Regions from separate parts of the Homo sapiens genome. Here all the other regions are linked to region 2. Evidence: promoter capture Hi-C in 16 types of primary human blood cells and fetal thymus (Javierre and others, 2016). All regions are on one chromosome and are shown on one strand. The core of a region is centred on a gene start or on the middle of the fragment in contact, and the rest is flanking DNA. Distances in the headings are between cores, read along the strand shown.

The links. Contacts are between HindIII fragments. The CHiCAGO score rates a contact against its expected background, and 5 or more counts as called.
Region 1: a fragment that was not itself captured here is called in contact with the fragment with the promoter of STARD3NL in region 2 in 1 of 17 cell types (megakaryocytes); the score reaches 5.4 in megakaryocytes.
Region 3: a contact is called between a fragment that was not itself captured here and the fragment with the promoter of STARD3NL in region 2, in 1 of 17 cell types (megakaryocytes). The highest score is 5.3, in megakaryocytes.

What each region holds. Positions count from the first base shown.
Region 1 is chr7:37,918,716-37,922,786 of GRCh38, forward strand. It overlaps EPDR1 (ependymin related 1), which reads left to right and starts at 1,925. Exons shown (of 3, transcript NM_017549.5): 1 at 1,925-2,493. The coding sequence starts at 2,225. RefSeq lists a silencer at 2,170-2,619. The HindIII fragment of the contact is 5,102 bases long and covers 1-4,071 here.
Region 2 is chr7:38,175,683-38,179,993 of GRCh38, forward strand. It overlaps STARD3NL (STARD3 N-terminal like), which reads left to right and starts at 2,563. Exons shown (of 9, transcript NM_032016.4): 1 at 2,563-2,738. RefSeq lists enhancers at 1-462, 2,210-2,289 and a silencer at 2,540-2,819. The HindIII fragment of the contact is 5,243 bases long and covers 1,768-4,311 here.
Region 3 is chr7:37,901,857-37,905,685 of GRCh38, forward strand. No RefSeq gene overlaps it. Among named protein-coding and RNA genes, the nearest start is that of SFRP4, 13 kb to the right of the region's middle. The HindIII fragment of the contact is 5,001 bases long and covers 1-3,829 here.

The sequences.
Region 1 (4,071 bases), core at 1,252-3,751, 260 kb before region 2:
ACAGACAGGGGGCAGCAGAGAAGGATGCATCAGGAAAACCTGTCAACTGTCCCTCCTCTTCGGGACTTCCAGGGAGGCTGTGATTCTAGAACACCCTACTTCAGCATTCAGTCCATTCTTTCCATGCCTTACATTTATTTAACAAGGCTCGGGAAGTTGCCTCATTCAGTGGCTTCTCTCTGGTGACTCCTTTTGGTCTCCTCAAGTGCCTGTTCTTTGCCCATCCTTTAAATGTCTGGAGCTCTCTGGGGCTCCATCCTAATCCTTCTTCTCACACTCAACACTCCCCTGAACTCCAGGTTTTCTCACCCCCAACACTTAGGACATTTGGGGCCAGATAATTTTCTCTTCATTTGGGAGAGGGGAGGTGGCTGTACTGCACATTGTAGGAAGTTTAGTAGCATCCTTGGCCTCTACCCACAAAATGTCAGCGGTAGCCTCCTCCCCATCTACATTGTGATCATCAAAAATGTCTCCAGATATTGCCAAATGTTTCTTTGCTGGGGAGGGGGATGTGAAATTTCCCCAGGAACCACTGTTCTACTCTTCGGCTTCATTTACCACCTATGTACCTATGGCTTCCTAATCCAAAAGCTCTGCTGGTTTCCAGAAGTATTTATCCAGCTGTCCCTTGGATATTTCCACCTTAATACTCCACAGTCAGCTCAAGATCAACCAATCCTAAAATGAATTGATCATCTCTCCTCACTCAGGACTGGATTCCCAGTGGCCCAAACCAGAAACCTCTCTCTCTGAGTTGAAATGCTTCTCTACAGCTCCCACCTGTCTTCCACCCTTTCCATGACCACTCCCGCTGCCTTAGCTGAGTCAGGATCATCTCTTTCCAGGATGATAACAGTAGCTTCCTCCTCTCCCTGCCTTCCCTCTGGCCCTACCCTTTCTGTTGTCTAAGTGGGCTTTCTAAAGCATATGCCTGATGATGCTCCTCCCTAGCTTTACATTGATTGATAGTTCCCACAGTCCTCAATATCAATGACAAATTCCTTAAAATGAGTGCTATGGCTTCAGAGTACTCCTCTACCTTGTCCTTGAACCCCAGCATTATTCTTTTCTTGTCCTTATGCCCTTCATTCAGGAATGTTATCTCCCACTTTCACCTGGCTCAATCTTAATCATCCTTGAAATGCAGTTCAAATGGAAAGACGCTATACATTTTTTTAGTTCCTTTCTTTTTTCTTGATTTCATACTTTATCACTATATTTTTAGAGACAGGGTCTCGCCATGTCACCCAGGCTGGATGGAGTGCAGTGGCATGATCATAGCTCACTGCAACCTCTAACTCCTGGGCTCAAGCGATCCTCCCACTTCAGCCTCAGGAGTAGCTGGGACTACAGGTGTGTGAGCCTCGCTCATTCCATATTATAGATCCTAACATTACATAACTATAAACCCAATTAACCTTATTCTTGAAGAAGCGAAACCCCCCAGACACCCAAACCACTCGGCTGGTGGTATTGCCAGGCGATGGGAGGAGCAGTCTCACTGCAATGTGACCTTGAGGCTATGTCCATGAGTCCTAGGCCCAATGCAAGGGGCTGTCTACTAGTCTCCTAGACTCTTCACTGGGAATGGGAGCTGAGGAGCGGCCATGATGAATAGCTAGTATCATTTCTTCAGGAAAAGACTCGTCTTTCCACTTTTAATTTGGAGGAAGAAGTTTGCAATTTTGTCGAGGGGCAATGTAGGCGGGGCAAACGTTTGCACAGCAAACGCAGCAGCTCTGCTTTTCCTATCTTGACCTTGAACTTGCCCCTCCCTGTGTGATTACCTGTTGAACACTGAAGTTAGTGGAGAAACACACTTCTCAGCACAGTCTCCCCCCATCCCCCCTCTTAAAACACGATGCCTCCCAGGATGCTAGTGGCACCACTGCCACTGCATTTCCTGTTGGCAGCAGTGAGCAGTGAAAACCGAAGCGGCAGAAGGCAGTGGCAGCAGGCAGTGGCAGCAGGCAGTGGCCCAGGCAGAAATAGCTCCCGCGCGATTCACTGGAGCCTTCCCCGGGCCCTGGTCCCGGCTACCGGGACTCGCGCGTCCGGATCTCAAAAGCGGCAGAGGCCACCGAAGGGACAGGAAGCACTTTGGTCCAGACCACACTCCCGGCACAGTGCGGAAAGAGCCGGCGGGAGCCACTCTGATCCCGGACGCCTCAGCGCCCCCTTGGGCTTGGGCTTGCCCTCGGGCCGGGGAAGGCTGACCGCGATGCCAGGACGCGCTCCCCTCCGCACCGTCCCGGGCGCCCTGGGTGCCTGGCTGCTGGGCGGCCTCTGGGCCTGGACCCTGTGCGGCCTGTGCAGCCTGGGGGCGGTGGGAGCCCCGCGCCCGTGCCAGGCGCCGCAGCAGTGGGAGGGGCGCCAGGTTATGTACCAGCAAAGTAGCGGGCGCAACAGCCGCGCCCTGCTCTCCTACGACGGGCTCAACCAGCGCGTGCGGGTGCTGGACGAGAGGAAGGCGCTGATCCCCTGCAAGAGGTACAGGTCATCGGCCCGCGGGGCGGGAGTAGGGAGCCGCGCGGGCATGGGGAGGGCGAGGTCGCAGAGGCCTGCGCCCTGTAACTCTTTCCGGCCCCTTGCAGCTCCTCCCTTCTCCCAGAGAGATCTTTCGCGAGGAGGGTCTCTTGGGGATAGCATGGTCCGGGACTGGGAGGGGCGCTGCGCCCACCGAGGGCGGCCTGCTGGCGGGGGACTCAGTAACACCCAGCGAGGCGGTGGCAGGTAAAGAAGGGACCCATCCAGGGCGGGATCAAGCTGCAGAGTGCCCCATGCCCAGGTTCGCCCCTGTTCTCACGCTGCTGAGTCAGGCTCTGGGCTCATGGAGCCCCCTGCAGTCTAGGGCGTGTCTTCTGCGCTATCTCATTTCTTTCTAGAGACATCTGCTAGAGAGGCACGCAGAATATGTATTTTCTAAGAAATACTTTTTGTATTTTAAAAGAATATGGCAAGATTACAAACGGTATGGGAAAGTGATAAAAAGAAAATTTCACCCACAAACTTAGCAAATTGTTACAGCATTAAAATTTTGGTCTACTCCTTTTAAGTTTTTTGTTTATTTTAAAGCAAATTTTACATACTATGATCAAAAGCCATACGTTATCTGAATCTTTTTTTAACTTAACATTGTCCCTTATATGTTCTTATTTGCCATTTTATTAGCTTGCCTCCTATTTTTAATGGCTGCACAGTATCGCTTACAGGGGCAAAGCTGTAAGTTTCTTTTAAGTATTGGTCTGACCATTCACCTTTTCACATCTGTTGTGACAAAGGAAACCCTCTTTTTGAGATGTCATCTCGCTTGTGGCCCCTTTAAGACCTGATTTCTAATTTGGGATCACCACCTGTCTCCCTTCCAGAGCCCTGCCGTTCCCCCTAAGTGTGTTCCTCTCACTGGCCTCTCTTTATGGCATTTGCATCATTAGGAGTTGCAAAGTGAATTTCCATGGTTTGAAACGCCAATGGACTGTAAGATCTATAGCAAAAGGGCACCATTAGTTTATAGAACAAAACCAAACTTGATAATATCATTTATTCTAAAAGCATTTGTTCAAGTATTAGGCGACTTGAAGAAAGTACGGAAAGGGCAGACCCTTTCAAACAATATCAAGGGTGCAAAATAATGCATTATGAAATGCAGCACAGAGCAGCACAGTCATCATGGTGGACTGGGAATTGATTCGAAGTCTTTCAAGAACATGAATGTTTTCAGTAGGGTCTTGAAGGGCACAGTAATAATAATAACAACTAACAGTTGCATACTTATTATATATGAGGCATGACACTGAGGACTTTACATCTATTATATAATTTAGTTTAAATCTCACAATAACTTGACAGTATAGGTTTTATGATCTCCATTTTACAGACAATAACTCTGAGGTCTAGGGAGATTAAGCAACTTTCTTAAGATCACACAGCTAATGCTTGAGGAAGCTAGGGGGGGGTTCTGACGCCTATGGTATACCAGGTTCACATTCATTCATTTATTTAACAAGCATTTGTTCATGTTAGGCACTGTGTATAAACAGAATGGCTCCTGGCTTTCAGGGAGGTCAG
Region 2 (4,311 bases), core at 1,313-3,812:
GGGTGGCCTGCTTCTATTCCCTTATTTGGCCACACTCACATCCTGCTGATTGGTCCATTTTACAGAGCGCTGATTGGTCCATTTACAGAGTGCTGATTGGTCCGTTTTTACAGAGTGCTGACTGGTGCGTTTACAAACCTTTAGCCAGACACAGAGTGCTGATTGGTGCATCTACAATCCTTTAGCTTGACAGAAAAGTTCTCCAAGTCCCCACCCGATTAGCCAGACACAGAGTGCTAATTGGTGCATTTACAAACCTTTAGCTAGACACAGAGTGCTGATTGGTGTGTTTACAATCCTTTAGCTAGACAGAAAAGTTCTCCAAGTCCCCACCCAACCTAGAAGCCCAGCCGGCTTCATCTCTCAGTTTCCTTTAGTTCTTTGAGCATATGTAAGACAGTTGACTTAAATCATTATCTAATAAGTCCACTATCTGGGCTTCCTTAGGAATGGTTTCCATCAATTTCTTTGAGACTTCAGAGGCTACACATGAGTGAATGCAATTAAATCCACAATGTGATGCCTCTACATATTCACCAGAATGTATAACATTTAAAAAGGAAAAGAAAAAGGAAGAACACAAAACACAAATGAGTATAGTAAGTGTTGGCAAAGATGCAGAGTAACTGAAATTTTCATTCACGACTAGGGCATGTATAAATTAGTAAAACCTAAAAACTATTTGGCAGTGTCTATTAATGTTGAATATATTGAATATATACCCTGTGCATAGTAACACTACTTCCAGGGATCTTCCAAAATCAAATGTGTAACTATGTGCATCATAAGACAGGTACAAGAATATTCATAGCAGCGTCATTTGTAATTACCCCAAACTTTAAATAATCTAATGTCAAACAACAGTAGAATAGGCAAGTAAATTTTAGAATTATATACAAAAATGAAAATGAAACTATTATATTCTTGAATATGGATCAATCTTACAAATATAGTATTAAGCAAAAAGAGCCACATAAGAGTGCGTATTATGTATGACTATTTATAAACATTCAGAAGCAGGCAAAACTAATTGGGTGGTAGGATTCAGAATTGTGCCTATCTGTGTGTAGGGGTATAATGACTAAGACTGAGCATGAGGAAAGCTTCTAAATTGCTGGTAAACATTTAAAATTTTGCTGTGAGGCGGTGGTTACACAAGTTTGTTCACACTGTCACTAAGACAAGCACTTATGATTATTACACTTATTTTGTATATGTGTTATGCTTTAAAAGGTTTTCACATCTATCAGTTTATAAAATTTTTTTAAATTGTATTTTATCAGTATTGGCGAGGATACAGGGAAAAATTGCTCAAATACTAGCAGTGGGAATGTAAGTTAAAACAACTACTCAGGGGAGCAAATCAGTGAAATCTATTAAGGATTTACATCGTGCAAACTCTGTGATCCAGTACATTCTCTTGTTGGTATCTGCACTCTAGAGAAATACTTGGACCTAAGTACAAAAAGGCATCTACATATATATTTATGGTACCATTGCTTCTCATAATAATATTAATAAACAAACGTGAGGGTGGGGGAATGGTACATTAATTATGTATGTATATATATACACATATTGGTTCTGAGGACATGCAGCATTTTCAGAGAATGAGGTAGATTTATATACAGATATGGAAAGATTTCAATGCTAAGTGTAAAAAAGTAACATCTACACTTGCAAATGCACAGGAACTAGGAGTCATCATCTACAGACTGGGTTTGTAATTAGGGCCTAAAAGGGATATAAGCATAATTGTAACGTTTAAGCTTTTTTTTTTTTTCGCATGGACAAAATCTTACTTGTGTAATTTAAAATTAATAACGGTACTTAGAATGACTTTGGAAAAATATACAAATAATGAAATGGGGATCCAAAGAATGTTCACTGTATACCTCTGTACTTCTAAAAATGTGAATAAGTGTAGCATCCGTTGGGAGAAAAGTTTAATTAAATTTTAAATAAAACAATAAAAGGTGCCTAACTTCGTGTGAAAACAGACATATAGATATAATTAAATGTGACTACCGCTTAGAGATGTTAGTTATGAACTAGGAGCGCTGAGAAAAGGTATCCTAAATAGGTCTGGGGGAAGTGAGAGTTAGAAGAGGTGACTCTTGAGCTGAGTACCGACATAGAAATGGTATGCCCTGTTTTTATTCCTGGAGGGCTCAGCATGAGGTGCCCAAGAGGCCCTGAAACCCATTTCCATGACATTTTCCCACGAGCTGGAGCATAAACCCCCACCGAATAACTGAAGGGAAGCGGAAGGCGCAGAAACGCGGACGAAGAGGAAGCGGGCGCTTGTTAAACCGTGCGATGCACAATGCGGGAAAGTCCAACCAGCTCCGTGTTTCAAAGCTGGATGCCCAGATTTCCCACCCATTCCTACAGGCAGACCGGCTCGCCCTCTCCCTCCTTCCCGCGTCGTTTACTGGTCAGTAGAAGATTGACATGTCATCTGGCCAATAGGTTGGCTCCTCTATGGAGGCACTCAGGAACCAGTCGGGTCTTTGGTCCCTCGAGCGAGATGCGAGCTGTGTGCGTCGACGTCAGCGTGCTGACGTCACGGGCCGGAGGTCCCGGGGCTGCTGGGTGCGGGCGGTGGGCTGCGCGTTGTCCGCTGGACTGGGTCCCGGTCACGCCCCGCCAAGCCCCGCCCCTCAGGCCGGGGCGCGACCGCGGATCCGCAGTTCCCGGGCCAGCCTGGGGCGGCCGGCCAGGAACCACCCGTTAAGGTAGGCTGGGTTTCTCGTTCCCCTATTTGACAGGTTGGAAAACTGAGTCTCCTGGGTCAGATGACTTACATGGGGGCGTACAGGGGACCCGCGGACGGAGGCCATATCCTGGTCCTGTTCTGTTTCCTGAGTCCTGCGCGAGCCTCCAGGGGAGGAGGAGGGGCGAGGCAGGCTGTGCTCATAATGGACACAAGAGTGAAGTTGCAGAATGCTGAGCCCCGCTGCTCCCACGGCGTGGGCCGGGATTCAGGGATGGATATAGGTAGCGGGAGTGTCCTCATTCCTCCAGCCTGCGGACCCTGAGGAGTCCCCGGTGGGGTCGGCCCCGGGCTGGCGCCATGGGCCCCCAAGAAGGACCAAGAATTGGTGACTGGGTGTAATGCGTGGGTTGTCCAGACACAGGCGGTTGTGAGTCTCTTCTATTCATTGAGAAAAGTCGTGTTCAAAAAAAAAAAAAAGAAAGAAAGCACGAATCATGAATGTTCTCCCTGTGGTTTCAGTTAACTGCTTCACCTACTCGTAGATATCTCGCCATTGTTTGAAATCTTAGTTGCTTGAATACTTTTGATTTAGGGTTAGGGATTTTTCCCCCTCTCTTTTAGTTCAAACATGGGTGGACATTGTGGAACTTTTCTTTGTTCACTGTGTCATTTGTCTTCTATTTCACAGATGGAATCACTGAATTCATCACTTGACACAGTACTAGTTTGGATAAGTTTAGCAAGGTAACCAAGTAACGGGTCTAATTAAATCTTTACTGGAATTAGTCCAGTTTGCCACATTTCCTTGTTAGGAAGAATTCTGAAAGGTAATTCCCGTCTGTATACCATATCTACCCATACGCCTCTTTCTAGAAGCAGGATCTCACAAAACGACTTATGGTATCCTTGTTTTATTGATGGATTCTGATAAGGTGGTGGATTATTCATGTTCATAAAATGAAAACATACAATATGTTGTCGTGTAGAAGTCACTGTCTTTAAAATCTAACTGTCTCAAACATTGGTCTTTTAAAACTGCATTATTGCATTGCCTAAAACTGCATGAAAGAAATGAAATGAAACAGCCTCTGAGGGATATTACCTTACTTATGTTCACAGAAGGATGGTGATTAACATCATTTGGATTTATTCAATGGACAGTTTGCCTGAGTGATTGTCTATGCCACTCATTGTTTTAGGTTTTAGAGATTGAGTAGTGAGCAATTTAGATAAGGCCCATACCCTCAAAGACTTTAACTTTTGTTGGAGAATATAATAAACATGTAAATCAAAGAGACAAGTTTAGATAGGAATAAATGTCAGAAAAGATACTACTGGGTAGAGAGTTTGAGAGTGACTGGGTTGTATGGAGAAATGGGATGGTCAGGGAAGACCTCCCTAAGGAGGTAACACGAGGTGACATTTTGGGTGATAGCTGAATGTTTAGCTGAGTCAGCCATGAGAAAATGGGCTGGAAGTTTCTAGGCAGATATAAACAGTGTAAAGGAGCTAAAGGAAGAATGAACTTGGCATGTTCCAGGGACAGAGGGAAGCCCGTGTGGCTGGAGCTGAGTGAACCTAGGGGAGGGTGA
Region 3 (3,829 bases), core at 972-3,471, 270 kb before region 2:
GAGGCTGAGAACTGTCAGCTGATGAGATACCCAGGAGGGTGGGGATGTGGGTCTGAATTCAGGGACAGGCTCAGTAAGTAGGCAATGGGACACCTGTGCAGAAACTGCCTCTATCCCATCAGCCAAATACATGAGGATGACTTCGCTGGGATGAGGTCAGTGTCTACATGAATTCCCCCAGACAGAACAGTCCCCATTCTCTAGTACTGGCTCAGTCATGCACCTTGACCCTAAAGCCAGAGTCTCTCTGATGGCTACACCCAGTCCATCCAGCCCAGTTCCATGACAGGACACCCAAAGCATTCTTGATTTGAGCCTAATGCTCTCCAGTACCTTCTTTGGATGCCCTGTGGAAGATGGACAGATTTCGTAAAATATGCTGTCCTCTATTTGTGGCCCTCTAGCTGGACTGTCTTAGTGCCCCTTCTGGACACTGAAAGGGATTCCTGACACTGATGCCTATCTGAACTGTGTCTGAACCTGCTCAACCATTGGAAGCTACTTTGGATGACCTCCAAAGCCAAACATTTTATGCATTCCAAAAAGGGAGAAAGTTGACTCAGCAATTGTCTGCCTAATTTTCAGCTGCTGAACTATTTCAATGACATAATGAATATTTTAAATGATTATAATTATTCTTAAAATGTTAGTGAATTTTAAAAGTCCATCAGTTTGAATCAACAACATTATTTTAGATTTATTTTGGTACCATGGCGAAATTTTATTCATAATACCATTTTTTTTGCTTAACTTCAGTTCTTTGCACCTTGTTATATTATTCAAGTTCTTATAATGTTATGAGATTTAGGAATAGTCCTCTGATTATATGCCCTCCCTGTTAGCTGAATATAATTGTTAATAAACAATTTAATTGTTTTCCCTTTTCATAATATGTCATTTAAGTGAGCCATACTGGCCATTAGAAAGTTGTTCTCATTGAGATACTGCAGCTGCATGTTTTAGTTATAAAATTTTTCTCATACAAATATCACAACTAAATATATTAGACTTAGGCTGTAAAGGCAAAATTACACACCATGGCTTTGTTCTTGACATTAATTACCTCTTTACAAATATTTTCTTACATTCCAGTAGACAGAAATTTCTCTCAGGTAGCAAAGCAAATAAATACTGTAAGTTCTGTAGTGGTGATCAACATATTCTTTCTTTAATAAATTCGAAAAGAAAAAGACATGAAAAAGCATGAAGACAAAAGTCGAAGGCTTAGGGATTAAATAGTGTATGGCTGCCAGTTACAGAAATTGACAGAGACATTCTGTTGCTTGACACTACTTTATAGTTTGTGCTGGAAAAGTATGGTGGTCAAACTTTAATATTTTTATGATTGTCATAGTGTGATGAGTATGAGAATGTGAATCACAACCTCCAATTGCAGGGGCCATATTGACAAGGGTTCTAGCTCTGCACCCTGAAATTCACTGTCACCTTTGCAGCAAGACCACACTACCTATGGGTTGCTCCCAGTCAGTGACTGAGCACAACAGGATACTTAGAGCTATCCCTGGGAGAAGAGGGACTCCTTTGACAGATGACTGGCTCAAGACTCCCAAGTAACCTTGCCAAACTTTCCTTAGACTTTACAGCAGTCTGGAATGCTTCTACCCAACCTTTCTTCTCTCTTCCCTCTCTCCTTCACTCAGGGTGGACATCCATTGTGCTCTGACAGCTCTCCCAGCCCTACCCAGATCCCTCCCCATTCTCTCTCACAGGCGTTTTGCACATTTAATTCTGTTTTGGCATTTGCTTCTCTGAGGACCCAGATGAAAACACATATGATCAAGGGAATAGTTTTCAAATTAGCATGTCTAAATGTCTTTAAATCAAACTACATTCTATATATATACCTGTCTGATAATATTTTTGTAGTATCTGATAGTTATAAAAGTAACACATGTTCATTAGACAAAATATAGAAAACCTTTATGGCTTACACTCTTTTTTTTTTTTTTTTGAGACTGAGTCTCGCTCTGTCACCTAGGCTGGAGTACAATAGCGTGATCTTGGCTCACTGCAATCTCCACCTCCCTGGCTCAAGAGATTCTCCTGCCTCAGCCTCCCAAGTAGGTGGGACTACAGGCGCCCGCCACCACGCCTAATCTTTTGTATTTTTGGTAGAGACGGGGTTTCACCATGTTAGCCAGGATGGTCTCGATCTGACCTTGTGATCCACCCGCCTCAGCCTCCCAAAGTGCTGGGATTACAGGTGTGAGCCACTGCGCCCAGCCTATGCTTTGCACTCTCTTATGGCAACATTTTTTATGGTCTTTAGTATTCAATAATGAAGGAAAGTTATTTGTGTCACAAACACCTATCCTACACTGACATGACTTGGGAACCACATTCAAAAGTCCATTTTCACAAATTATTGGTAAAATAAACTCTGATACATCCAAGCTATGCAACTGTCCAATATAAACCTACTGTTGCATTCTTTAGTGGAGCAATTTTCATGCTGCCTTATTAAGTTCATACACCAAAACAGGAGGAAAACCCAGAAGGATTCACACCAAAATGCTAGTTTTGACATTTTGAGTAGCTACTTTGATATTTTGGGTCTTTTTGTTTTATTTCATGTTTTTGCTTATTTCTGTTCTTTGAATAATAAGGGGGGATATTCCATTGCTATCCAAGGGTTCAGCGTCTTCTTTGGGGTACTTTAAATTAAAGTAGATGCTCTATCTTGGGTACTTCATTCATCTGGAGAACATGGCATGCTTCCTTATCAGTTAAATCACAGAGTTGACAATTAATTGATATTATGGCTAATAATATCAGTTAATTACTGATATACTGTTGGGTGGTATGCCTCTCACTATGATGTAATACATCTTTCAGTGTAAACTGCTTTTCAAAAGTATTTTCCAATAGGAAATATGGTCAGCATTAGCATAAATCAGACTATAACAAGAAGCAGAAATTTGTTATCCTGTTGCTCTTTCTATGGTGATAAATAAATAGTCCCTCTAGCAGCCCAGATTTATGTTACCAAGAAGTCAGTGGACTTTGGACTGGTAAATCAAAATTCAGGAAATTTGAGGGCCCAGATCTGCCTCTAGCTATGTGCAAGAAATCAGACAAACTTATACAACCTTTCTCCAACAAGCGAGGTTATGACTTCTGAGGTCTTATTCAACCTTTTCATTCCATGATTCCAAACAATCATTCTTGCTCTTTGAATGGTAATAATAGCAGGTACATCCTTGCAGTAAAAATGTGCTCTTCTTTTTCACTCAGGGACTGGTTACCCCAACCAGAAACACCCTCAAGCTAGTAAGGGGTTTTGCTGTAAGAATGCGATAGACCATCTTATAGGTATCCAAGGAGAGAAACCAAAAGTGTGATCAGACTGCATTGGTTTAGAGCTGAAAAGTAAGAACTAAGGCTATTTATGTAAGTTCTCATGTATCTTAAAAGAAGTCTAGACAGAGAGCATCTATTGGCAACTCTGCTATACTCTAATTCTTCAGTTCCTGTAGTTAACCAGTTATATTATTAAGTTTGATTTGTTAAAAAAATAGAGAAGGTTGCATAGGCTTTTCCAGCAGTTAAGAAATCTGTCTATCTATCTATCTATCTATCTATCTATCTATCTATCTATCTATCTATCTATCATCTATCTATCTATCTGTCTGTCTGTCTGTCTATCTATCCATCCATCTATCTTTCTATCCATCTATCTATCAATCATCTATCAAGCCATCTATTTATCTCTATACTTTGAGGGGCTCAAATCACTATTTCCCAGCTGCCAGGAGTGTAGGAAGTGCTGAGAATGTTGTCAGCTGATGGTTCACAGACGAAGGGAGGA